3 separate regions of the Homo sapiens genome follow, and regions 2 and 3 are each linked to region 1. Evidence: promoter capture Hi-C in 16 types of primary human blood cells and fetal thymus (Javierre and others, 2016). All regions are on one chromosome and are shown on one strand. The core of a region is centred on a gene start or on the middle of the fragment in contact, and the rest is flanking DNA. Distances in the headings are between cores, read along the strand shown.

Region 1 (4,215 bases), core at 558-3,057:
AGGCATGAGCCCCGGCACCCAGCCGATTTTTCTTTTTTTAAAAAAGCAAATTATTTTCCTGGAGGAATTTAAAAGTATAAAAAGTATTAAAACATAATATAGCAATTCAATTACCACCCTCCAGAATGATTCCCCATAATACCCTAGCTATGTGTTCCCAGTATGTTCTATGTGTATATGCTTTAAAAAATAAACACTATATAAGCACAAAAATTCCTCTGATGGTTCTCTCCCACTTTCAAGTTAAATTATGAACTAATTGATATGACCCCTTGTTGCTGCCTGATCTAGTCTCTGCAATATGGAACTTTTGCTATTGTTCTCTGCACTCTTTCATGCCTTTATGCCTTTGCATATGCTTTGTATAGAATATGGTTGACCTCCCTGCCCCAAATCTGACAAATATTTTACTGGTTCTTCAACCAGTTCTCCAGAAGTAGAACAAGTTCTTCCTCCTCTATGTTCCTATAGAACCCTATGTAGACTTCTTTACAGCATTTTGCACATTGTATACTCATCTATTCCTCCCCCCAGATTCTCCTCTACTACAACTCCCCTCACCTGGATTTTGAGCTACTTGAGGGTAGGGACTATTTTTCCAATTCTGTGGCAACAGTGCCTAGCCCAGAGCTTTGCACAAAGCACTATGCTGAATAAATGGTTGAATTTATTAAATCGTCTTCCTCCTTCACTTATCTTTTTAAAATATTGGGCAATTACCTCAGCAAAATGCAATTCCCCTGTCTTTCCCTTCATTTTACTCGTGAGTCGAAAAGTTGTCCTCATCAAGAAGTTGTAGTAATTCAACTGTAACAAGGCTACAAGGATTCATCTCTAACAGAGAAAAAAAAAGGTCAAAAGTTGGGAGTGAAATTAGCCCTAATAAACAACCATTTTCCTCAACCTTTAAGTCACTTGGAAGTGCTTGGCATTCCCCACCTATGTCTTTATCCAGCTCTTGTAACATATTTTTACTCAAAAGGTTAAGTTTCTTAAAGACACATATAGTTACTCGTTTGTACTTAAGTTGTATTGTCTATCTGTTCTAAATTGTTATTTATAGCAGTTTATGTGGCCACTGTTTTTCATGGCAACAACATAGCTTCATTATGGATTAAATAGGCTTCTTCTGGGCTGGTGTAGATCACATTTCTATGCCTATTTATGACACTGTTTCCAGGGGGAACTATAATTTCCAATTAGAAAAAAATATATACATTCTTCCATACCTTTCAAGTGATTTTAATGCAGGTGGTTCACAAGGAACACACTTTAACAATTTTAAAGGACTATAACTCTCAATTAAAATTCTAAGCTTACCAAAGAATAAACATCATCTTTTGAAAAACACTTAAAACTCAATAACAATTTCAAATCACGATAGAAAGTGCTTCCCGCAAAATGCTAAGAGCTTAACCGACATGAAAATAAATCTAGAGCCTTCGTCTGTCCCCACAAGCACAAACCCATAACCCCAAGAGAGATTCTCTAGACAGTGCACCCAAACTACAATACCCAGAATACCCTTCCCCGTCTGAACGCTGGGGACAATCGGAAGGGGAGGGGAAGAATTGTGCGTATAGAGAAATAAGTGTCCCGCAACTCCATCTCCCATAATTCTCGGTCCTCACTTGTGTCTGTCTGCCAATGTCAACACGAGTTACCCCCAGGAAGAACAGCCTCCAGCGACCTCAAACTACATTTCCCATGAAGCCATGGGCTCGGGCCTCCGGCTTCCCCGGTGACCAGTAGCCAATAGGAGACGCCGCAGTGGGCACCCTGTGTGTGAGAGTCCAGCCTTGGGCCAGAGTGCCGGGTCTAGGCCTGGAAGCGCGAGGCGGGCATTTCGGAAGAGAGTGGCGCGGCGTGGGGCGCCGCGAGGGCACTACGAGCCCAGGAACTGCCGCGCCGGCCCGATTTTCCGCGGCTGTATAAGGACTAGCGCTTCGGTAGCCGGGGAGCTGGAGGTCAGAGAGGCAGAAAGCCCCGGTGGCCGTGGCTGGGGACTGTGGGACTGAGGGGGCCTAGGGAGGAGGGTGCTTCCGGGGCCGCGGTCCTCAGCGCCTAACTCCACCCAGCTCCACCTCTGCAGGGGAGGGGGTATCGGGACTGGGAGTCGGGGGTGGGCTTTTGAGCTCTAGGCGCCAGTTCTCTTGAGCCCGGGAGCGCGCTGTCTTTGCTCTTTTTTTTTTTTTTTTTTGGTCCAACTCGCCCGCCCCTTTTTTTTTTTCCCACGACGCCGCCCCCCTCCCCCTGGCTCTGTGCCTCCTCAGAGGTCCGAAGTTGGGGTTTGCGTCCAGGGTTTTGCCTAGGCGGTGACTGGACTCTAATTCTTACCGCAGGAATTGGGTGATCTCTTTCCTCTTTTCCCTCAATTTGTATTTCAGGTTTGGGCACATAACCCTCCCTGCGCTACACTCCCCATTTTCTTTGGGGCATGGGAATTCCTTGCCACGCTCAGGGCGTGACTTTTTTTTTTCAAACTTTCTCTTTTTGCCTCCTTAATTGATCGCCATCTCTTTACTGGCCCCTCAGCCACCTGCCACTTCCCCCACCAGGTCTTTGAAGTGGGGAGAGTTTCCCCTCAATTTCTAGAAGGGATGGGAAGCAAAAGAGGGAAGGAATCTTGCTTTTGAGAAATGTGTGTTTAAGGTTCAGTGCAGGGTTCTGGTGAGAGTAAAAGGCAAGTTAGACTGGTTATAAAAATCCAGCGCTTTAGGGGTTTCCAGCAAAGACTGATAGCACTAATGTTGACAAACATTTAGGGGGCACACCTTTATTCTACAGAATAAAGTAGACCGTGTGAAACAGACCATATTAATCATTGTATTATTACAAACGTGTGCAAAAAACGCTAAGAGGGGTCAGTGGAAGAGCATACTGATGGGGGTGGTGAGTTCATCTATGGAAGTTCAAGCCTAACCCGGGAAGTGCTGAAGCCCTCATCCGGCTTTCAGGCTTTGTGAAGGAGGTGAATTTTAATCTGGGCTCCAGCAGAGTACAGGGGATTTGAAGTTGTCAAAGAGGAGGGAGAAAATGCTTCCTGCTACTGAGATTGGACTTTGAGAAGGGTAAACAGAAGAGGGAGCACTGTGAGACAGGTGGGCTTGCCTGATTGGAATAAAAGATATCAGCACAAATATACTGGGAAATAAATAGGGTGGAGAAGCTTGGGGTCATAATAACATGATACTTTGAAACATACACATAGTTTGGATATTATTCTGTATCAAATAAAATTGAAGGCAAAAATTAAGATTGGATGATTTTTCTTTTCATCCTAGGGAACCTGATTTGAGATCAATTCTTGGAGAACACAAAGAAGTGTGATGGTATGTTCCAGGTGTGAGTTTAAATCCAAGAAGAAGCTTGTCTTGCAGATGTTTTGTTTGTAGCTATTCTTAGCTACAGTCTATAGCTGTCAACTTTAAAGCCTAGAGACATCGATATATTTTCTTAAGAAATGCATTTGCTGTCCCCGTGCATCACATTATCTGAACTGTAGTCATCTCATTGGGTGACAATAATGACTGCTATTTATTGAACCCACATAATGTCCTAGTCATCATCATAAATACTTTGTTGCATTATCTTGAGTGTTATGAAGTAGGTACTATTATTCCTGTTTCTTTTTCTAGAAGAAAACACTAAAATGCACAGAAGTTAAACAATCTACTTAAAGTCACATAGATTATAAGTTGAGTTGAGGTTTGGGTGTACAGATTTCTGACTCCAAAGCCCATGCTCTGTTCAACATGGTTTGCTGCTCCCAATGTTCTTTCTTGTTCTTGACTTTCCAGTTGTGGTAAGGAGAGATAGGTATAGTTCATCATCCTGGCCAAAACCCAAATGATTCACTTAAAATTTCTATGTCAGAATGTATTTGCTGTAAAGTAGCTGCCAAAACCAAATTAACTGTCATTGCAACTGTAGCTAATTGTGTCTGCCAAAACCATAGTCAGTACGGCTATTTCTGAATTAGATGATTCTCTTTATAACACATATCATACCTCTAAGCTATTTGGACCTTGATAGCACTTTGGATGTATTTTATTTTAGCATTTTAAGAAGTTACCTGGGACACTAGATCTCTTTCATGACCTCTGCCCACGTGAAGTGTTGGAGAAACAATGAAGTACAAGGTGTGAACTCTTCCTGGGGTCTAGCTGGGGAGCTGGATGCCCACAGTTCTGAGATACTGTAGTGTGTAGTATA
Region 2 (4,215 bases), core at 1,716-4,215, about 24 Mb after region 1:
AAAGCACCTAAAAAGGACAAACTCAGAAAATGTGTCTCTGTTAAGAAGGAGCTTCTGGATTAATTAAACTAACCTTGTTAAATTGACAGAAAGACAAATGAGGCATATTTTTCGGTTTGTCATAAATTCTTCTAGGGGTAAAATTGTGAAATTAGGTAAGATCTCTGTGCCCATGTATAACATCTAGAGATCTCCAAGGCTTTGTATACACTGTCTGATGTCCTTTTAAGCTGGGGAGAAGAATGTTGTGGGAAACAGAATAACTATTATTACACAGTTAACAAGTTTGGCAGAATTAGAAATGGCCTGGTTTTCTTTTTAGTGTAATTTTCTGAATGTTTGTCTGTTTGTACCTATCACTTGCGCTGGTTACAGTTATACACAGGTATGTAGAGTACTTCTTATGACCTTGCTTTCCAGTTGCAATTCCACAGCTATGTGAATATGTATCTTAGCTATTCGTTCTCCACTCATCCCACCTAGTGGATTTGCAATGTAGTGTGTATCATTTCAGTATCAATAGGCTATATGTTTTATTAGAAGTTGTACACAAGTTTGGTGTGATGGTTGGTGTAATATTTGTTCCATCCTTTGCCACCGTCCCAGGGGATAAGCACACTAGCAACCTTGGTGTATTTTTCCATTTCCTTGTCAATATGTCAATTGGGACAGATTGGTTGAGCCACAAAATTCAGCTCTACCACCATATAGGATTTACCTGGTGCAGGCAATGATGTGACCCCCCGTTTTGTTTATACTTATATTCAGTTCACGTTCTGTGCCAAAGCTACAAAGTGGTACATGCTATGCCTGCAGTCATTCACCTTTATGATTCAAGAGCACAGTTATTTGCATGTGACAGGTCTTAGGTAGCTCACCATGACATTTTCAATCTGATAGAAGTTCTCAGGACAGGAAATTCTACAATGTTTTTCAGTAGCTGCTTTTTGGTCCTTTGCTCTAACTTGAGCATGGAAATACAAAGCAGTTTGGATAAGTCTAAATCTACTGATTAACATTTGACTATTTACTCATAGATTACCACTCAATCATGGAATAACTTTAAAACCATACCTTTGTATGTGCTTGACAGTCACCCTATACTTAGGAGGTATCCTCATTTTACAGATGAGAAAACTGGCCTAGACCAGTTAAGAAACTTACTGAAACCCACATGGTCTAGTAACTTACCAGAGCAAAAATTCAAGTCCAGATTGCCTCTAAAACCCTGTCGTGCTATACTGTCAACTGAGAAGTGAGATTCAAATCCAAGTAGTGTGCCCCGCCCCCCACCATTACCTACAATCTTTTCTTCTTTGGCTTCTTGAGATGTAAGAGGGTTTCTCTTTAATTAAAAAAGTATTGACTAGGTAATGTAGTCATGGGTTCAAAATTCAAAGGGCACAAAAAGATACGTGAAGAATTTTTTCTGCCCTTGTCCCTCAGCCATCCAGTTCCCCTACCTGGAGGCATTCACTCATCATTTGTCTGTAAGTTCTCCCAAACATATTTTGTGCATATACAAGCAAACACACATATATATGTTTTTAAGTGACTAGAGCTCCCCTTTTTATGCAAATAGAAGCATAGTATACATATCGTTCTGCACCTTGCTATTGCACTAACTATATTTTGGAGATTGTTTAGTAGCAGTTCATAGAGAACTTTGTCATCTTGGTAACTGCTGCATAGTTTTTCATTGAATGATACATTTTCATAGTATGTTCTTGGATATTTTCATTTCTGTTTTCATAAACAATGTTGCAAGGAATGATAGTAGGTTAGAGGATATATAGTATTGAGGATTCTATTCATAACTGAATTGCTGCTTTAAAGGGAATGTACATTTATGATTTTAGTAGTATCCTCATTTGCCCCCAATAGATGTTGTACCAATTTATATTCCTACCACTAGTGTATTGAGAGCGCCCGTTTCCCCACAATCTCAATAAAACAAGTGTGTTATCAAACTTTTGGATCTTTCCCAATCTGTTAGGTGAAAAATGGTAGTTTAATGTACTTTTAAAAATAAACTTTAAGTTCTAGAACAGTTTTAGATACAGAAAGGTTGCATAGTACAAAGTTCCACATACGTACAACTCAGTTTCCCTTGCATAACTCTGATACATTTGTCACAGCTAACGAACCTTGTTATTAGCTAAAGAGCATAGTTTGTTCACATTTCCTTAGTTTTTACCTCATGTCTTTTTTTCTTTTCCAGGATCCCATCCAAGATACTGCATTACTTTAGTCATCATGACTCCTTTGGTTCCTTTTGGCTGTGACAGATTCTTGTGTTTTTGATGACCTTGCTAGTTTTAAGGAGTACTGGTAGTCAGTGTACTTTAAAATTTGTGAGATTGGACATCTTTTCATACACTTAAAGACATTTGCATTTCCATTTCTGGAAACTAAGAGCCTATGCTTTTAACCACTATACTATACCTCTTTCTTGATTCACCATAATTATCAATAAAACATATGTGGGCCTGAACATACACAGACTTCTGATTCTGAGTGGAGAAAACTCTCAAGTCTCTGTTACAGATAGAGGAGAACCATTAGTACAGGTGATATAGTCAGACTCGTGTCTGATGACTCTGGCTACATCGTGAAGGATGAAGCAGAGGCTCGACTGGAAACGGTAGGTAGGCTGGATAAATCCTTGAAAGAAAAGCAGTGTTGATAAGTTCAAAGGAAATTACAGAAGAGCCAGGAATTAGTGGTAATGGATGAGAGAATCAAGAAGTCAAAGGTGACTCGTTTTATGAGCTGGATATTTTGGGTCTTCTTTTGAACCTAAATGAGAAATTCAAAATAAATATTTGGACAATGTTCAGCATACCTGTCACTTGAGATCTACTTTCTCTTTCTGTTGCCATAGCTCTGTGCTACTACAATTCCCAGAGCCCCATGCTCCATCACAATACCCTTAGAAGTCCGCCGCGCGGAGTTCTGGGACTTGAGGTCCGCGGCCTATTTACCCAAGTTGGAGGTAGGGGCCTGTGGAAACATGAAGAGGTAAGGACTTGTCTGAAGAGCAGGCGGCAAGGGGAGCTTTGTTCTACCTTTTCTTTTGAAAATGGCTTCCATTGCTTTCTGGTTTGGGTATTGCACGTTCTCAGGATGCGGTTTCGTGGGAGCGGGAACACGACAAAGGAGACGGGAGGAGGGGAGACGGGCTGAACAGGCCTGCAGAGCGAAGTTCAGGAAGGGCTGCCACCGGGGCCGGCTGCTGTGGGAATGCCCTCCCGGCACGGGCCCCGGGAGCTGGCCGGGTGCTGCGGCTTCGTCGTTTCACCCGGACCCAGCTGGGCAAAAGGGTTTGAGGCTGACAAATTCCCGGCGCCGGAGATGTAGGTACCTCGGGCCAGCCCCTCGCCGTTCTCCCCTACCTCCACCTCCACCTGAGAAAGGCTCGGGGCGGGCGCATTTATTTGCAACGTCTGTGTGTTAAAGACTACTTGCTTGGGCCCCGAAACCATGTAGCGCTTTCGAATCTTAAAGTAAGGGAGCGGTACTTTGTTTCTAAATGTGGAAGGACAGCACCAAAGCGGTTCGATTTATGGGGTGGGGGGAGGGGAGGTGGAAGGCATTGCTGGGCTCAGTTCCCCTTACTTGTCCTGAGGTAAATGGCCGCTTGAGCCTAAATGGCCTGAGCCTCCTAACTATTGACGGGCTTAAATTAATTTTAGATTCACTCTGCAAGTAGAATCATCACTCTGGAATAGTGCAGTGCATTTAAAATTCTTACTGATATGCTTTCCTGCACTGTCAGTTCCTTGCATCTTTTAAAAAACCGTTTATGACTTTGCCTGCCTGAAACTAACCTTTAATATTTTTTTATGATATCTCCTCCATGCGAAATAATGTATAATGTATATATACAGCTTAAAGAATAATAAAGGTTCGCATCCACTACAAGCTTAAGAAATAGGACATTGCCAGTCCCTTAGAAGTCTACTGTGTCTCTTCCCTCCCTTCGTTCCCCCCTGAGGTGACCACTATCCGGAATTTTGTGTTATTAATTCCCTTGCTTTTAAAAAAGCAAATAGTTTCTAGTACATATGAATTTATCCCTAAACAAAATGTTCCTAGTCATGTATTTGAAGTATTCCTGATACTTCATGCTGGCGTTTCTATTGTAAAAGCTACTAGACTCAATGTGGCTAAAACAATACTGACTTTCCCTTTCCCAAATCATTTATTCCATCT
Region 3 (4,215 bases), core at 844-3,343, about 20 Mb before region 1:
TGAAACCTGTGCAGGGCCTTAAAAAAATAAAAGCACACACACAAAATTCTTAAGACAAGCAAAAATGATTCTAAGTAAAAGTAAAAGAGGAAGCAAGCAGCTATCTGGGAGAAAATCTGAAGGTAAGTAACCCCAAAGTAAGAAACCCAACTAAGACTAGTTTGAAGGGTACCAAAGAAAAATACCTTCCACCTCTCAGAGCACTTCTTGGAAAATTCCGCAAAATTGACAGGGACCTCTGGGTTTTTCTTCTTATGTTCTTCTCTGCATGTCTGCACAAAGAAGGCATAAGCGGACATCTTGCCCTTTGGTTTCTTGGGGTCACCTTTAGCCATCCTGACTGTGATAAAAGAGAAACAAAGAAATACAATGAGGAAAAGCAAGGAGGAATTGACAAGAAGTACAAGACGTACCAAAGGCAGAGCAAAACTAAAACTACACTTGCTGTTAGGAAGTCCCCTTCCCCCAATGCCGGACACCAGTGGCAGAAGGCAGAGTAGGAAAGAAATCAGCTTCATTGTCGCTTGTCATTTAACTTTTGACCAGCACGAAGCGCGCTGGTTTGCGAGTTACTTCTCAAAAGCGATCAAGTGCTCCAAATGGAGCCGACCCAAGTAGGGTACTCAGTGTTACGTTTACAGAACTGCTATGTTTTGGAAACTACAATCACAAAGTGGGAAGGGTAGAGAGAGGACACATTTGGTGGGGGTGATAGAAGCTTGAAATCTATGACTTAAGACTATCTGGTCATCTGCTAACTGTTAACACAATTAAAAACAACAACTCTTACCACTGCTGAACACAAGACCAAAGCAGGAGAACTATACGTAGGGGACATCTGAAATTGTCACTATTGTTGATGTGTTTTGGCTTACTAAAAAAACGGCTTTACAACACGGGAGATCTGGAAAGTGAGCAGGTACCCCCGTACTATTAGTTCAATTCATCACTTCGTCACTATCTAAAGGGGGAGGGTGTATAAAAAGGGCTAGTCGTGCTCATCTGTAACCCAGAATGCAGGTCCAGCCGAGAACACTTTCTCCAAAGTTTCCAAATAAAAATGCAGCTGCGGCATGTCATCGTCCCTGTCCCACCCCCCAGCTTCCCGCCATCTTTTCCTTTTCCCACACCCAAGGTCATCATGTAAAACTAAAGAGCTCCCCTTGGCAGCAGCCGCCCAGGAGGCTGCCCAACAGAGACCCGCAGCGGCGGCCCGGGCGGGGCGGGACCGGGAGCGGGGGAGTCCCGGCCGGCAGCAGGCAGCCCGCCTCGGCCCCCGTGCCGGGTCACCGGGACACCCGTAATTCACCTTCCATTTTGTCAAAAGCCTCCTGATGAAAGAAAGTGCCCCTGAAATCCGCCGCTGTCATCCCCGGGGGACGCGCGGGGCCGGGGGCGGCGGCGGTGGCGGTGCGCGGGGGGTGTGCGGCCGGGCCGGCGGCAGCCGCGGCACTGGTGGCGGCGTCCGCCGCGCCTCGGAGTCCCACTCGCTAAAATGGCTGATCCGCGCGCGGCCGGCGCGGGCGGCGGCGACAGCGGCGAACAAAGCGGCCCGGGCCCCGCCGCCGCCGCCCGCCCGTCGGCCCCCACCCCGCCCCGCCCCGCCCCGCCCGGGCCGCCCGGGGGCTCGGGGGCCCGGGCCGGACCTCCCCGCCCCCCGGCGCGGGGCGCACTCCTCGGGATAACAAAGGCGCCCGTGCAGCCATGACGCTCGGCCGCTCCAGGGCCCGCAGCGGCGCCCCCGGCCCTCCGAGCCGCCCGCCCCGGGCCGCGGGCGCCGGGGCCGAGGCCGGAGCCCGCCGGGCGCCCCGCCGACCGCTCCGCCCGCCTCCCCTGCCCTCGCCGGAGGCCAGCGCCGCGCCAGCCATGTTAGCGGCGGCGGCGGCGCCGGGCGGGCGGGAGGCGAGAGGGGGGCGGCCGGCCCGCGCCCCCCCGGGCCACCGGGCGCTCCGCGACGGCCATGTTAACGCAGAGCCAGCGGCGTAGCCTGCGGGCCCGCGCGGCGCCGGGCCAAGCCCGGGAGCGAAGTTTGCCCGTGCGGCGGCCCCCGGCGGGCACCAGCCGCGCAGCCCCCGGCGGGCACCGGCCGCCCGTTCCCCAGCGGAGTCCGTCGCGGGCCGGGGAACTCCCGGCCCCCTTCCCGCTGCCGCCGCCCAGCGCCCACAGCCCGCAGCCGCCCCTCTGCTCGCCCAGCCGCCGCAGCCGCAGCTGCCCAAACATCTGGCCTCGGGGGCCCTGGGTTCCCGGCTGCGGCCCCTGGGGCCGCCACGGGCGGGCGTCCGCCGAGGGGGCCGACCCCCGAAAGCGGGGAGCTCGGGGAACGCGTTGGAAAAGTTGAAACACCTGAATTGCTTCTTCCTTCCCGGCCGCCTAGCAGGAGGGAAGGCGGAGGGGGCGGGAAGGGAATGGGGAGTAGAGGCAGGGGGAGGCGGCGGCAGGGCGCGCTCACGGCGGCGCGGGCCGGAAAGTTGTGCGGGCGCTGCGGCGGCGGCGGCGGCGGCGGCGGCGGCGGCGGCGGCGGCGGCGGCGGCGGCGGGAGCGGGCGGTGCGAGACGTACCTGTATTGTTCGCTAGTCTGGGCAGCGCAGGGCACGACGCGCGGCTCAGCGCTCCCCAGCCTCGCGCTAGCTGCCTCCACGAGAGCCGCCTGATTGGCCAGCGGGCTCTGCCGTTTAAAACAGCCTCCTCGCCTGGCCATTGGCTGCGGGCCTCATGCATATTAAGCAGGCGTGGACGCCCATTGGGCGCGGCTGCTGGGATCATTCATTCAAACAGAACGACCCGCCGGCGCCGGCTACGGAGGCCAAACAGGGAAAGACCTAGTCTCGCCTGCCCGCCCCGCCCACCTCGCCAGCCCCCTCGGGGAACAGAACTGGGATCGCCAAGGGCTTTGAAGAGGTGGCCCTGCGATTCCCGGAGGCCTCGGCCTCTGGCGTGGGAAGATGAAGTCCAGCCCCGCTGCGCTGCCCTCTGCTCCCACCGCACCGCGGCCTTGGCGCCCCTGGCCTGCAGTCAGCTCCCCTGCCCGGGGAAACACCCCTGGGCCCACCACGAAGGGCCGATGGTAGACCACCTCTACCCGGTTCGGCCGCGGCGCCGCGACAGAAACGCGGCGGCAGCTCGCTCCTCGATGCCTGGCGGAGGGCAGCTGCTTGCTCGCCAAGACCTCGGGATTTAGTCCTCGGATCTCGCTGCCTATCCGAAAGCCACCTGATTCCGCTTCTGCGGATCGTGCTCAACTAGGCTCTTTCCACTAAATGCCAGAAGGTCTTTATTTGCGCCCGAAATTGCGGAACCGACGGGCTAAAAGAGGAAAACAAAATTTGGCAAGAGCAGAGAATTTGTGAGAAATTGTAGTTTTGTGGGCAAAGAATAACACTTTTCTTCTTACCCTCTTCACTGTCTCGGTTCAAGGCCCTCATTCCCTCTGCTCTCCTGACACACCCTAGAGCAAAGAATTAAAGCTTCGGGAATGAATGAGTGAATGAATGAATGAATGGGATTTGACTTGATCTCCACTTTGCCATTGGCTGGTGGTATGGCCTTGAGCTAGTCACTTCTTTGGGGATTCAGGCAATGTTTTTCAAAGTATAGGAGCCGCAGTGTCACTTCTGTAAGGGATGTTCTGAAATTCGTGGGGCCGGTGCCTGGATGACTGGCAGGTGTTGCTGGAATTCAATAAGAGGAAGGAACGGCCGGGGATACTAAATATCCTACATTGCATAGGACAGTCCCACGCAAGGAAGAAATACTCCACTTCAAATGCAAGTATCAGCCCTATTTGGAAAGAAAGTATCTGAGGGCCCTTGCCTGGAAAGAATGAAAGGGTGAGAAAAAGAGCAGTTTAAAGATTGACAGTTGGAGAAAATAATGCAAAGGAAGAGATGTCATGAGTTTGGTTTTTCTTTTCTTTGAAAGGCCAAGAGATCCAGCTATTTATGAGTCCTATATTCAGAAATAAGCCCCACCAGAACATGAATTTTCCAAATGCTGCTTCCAGAAACCGTGGCTGAGTTTGAGGTGTGCAAAGGATCTGGCTTCACAGGGCACCTGCTTCTTCACCCCTACGCCCCCTCTTACCAACTCCTCTGAGCCTCCCAGCCAAGCCTGAGCCCCTGAAGCTGGTGCTGTTGGCTCCCATCATCAAGGTTCCAATCCAGATCAAAAGGCAAAGATAGAGGCCAAGCGCGGTGGCTCATGCCTGTAATTCCAGTA

What was found. Contacts are between HindIII fragments. The CHiCAGO score rates a contact against its expected background, and 5 or more counts as called.
Region 2: the fragment with the promoter of RBM41 here is called in contact with the fragment with the promoter of ENOX2 in region 1 in 3 of 17 cell types (activated CD4 T cells, total B cells and non-activated CD4 T cells); the score reaches 12.3 in activated CD4 T cells.
Region 3: a contact is called between a fragment that was not itself captured here and the fragment with the promoter of ENOX2 in region 1, in 1 of 17 cell types (total B cells). The highest score is 6.4, in total B cells.

What each region holds. Positions count from the first base shown.
Region 1 is chrX:130,900,801-130,905,015 of GRCh38, reverse strand. ENOX2 (ecto-NOX disulfide-thiol exchanger 2) reads left to right here and starts at 1,807. Exons shown (of 15, transcript NM_006375.4): 1 at 1,807-1,967; 2 at 3,285-3,332. RefSeq lists enhancers at 1,592-1,781, 1,402-1,921, 1,792-2,061, 1,922-2,441. The HindIII fragment of the contact is 1,854 bases long and covers 1,318-3,171 here.
Region 2 is chrX:107,117,572-107,121,786 of GRCh38, reverse strand. It overlaps RBM41 (RNA binding motif protein 41), which reads left to right and starts at 2,965. Exons shown (of 8, transcript NM_001324242.2): 1 at 2,965-3,021. The coding sequence starts at 3,014. RefSeq lists enhancers at 3,012-3,201, 3,582-3,661. The HindIII fragment of the contact is 8,519 bases long and covers 1-3,927 here.
Region 3 is chrX:150,981,720-150,985,934 of GRCh38, reverse strand. HMGB3 (high mobility group box 3) reads right to left here and starts at 2,600. Exons shown (of 5, transcript NM_005342.4): 1 at 2,559-2,600; 2 at 186-340. The coding sequence starts at 335. RefSeq lists a silencer at 2,570-2,769 and an enhancer at 2,891-3,586. The HindIII fragment of the contact is 2,746 bases long and covers 721-3,466 here.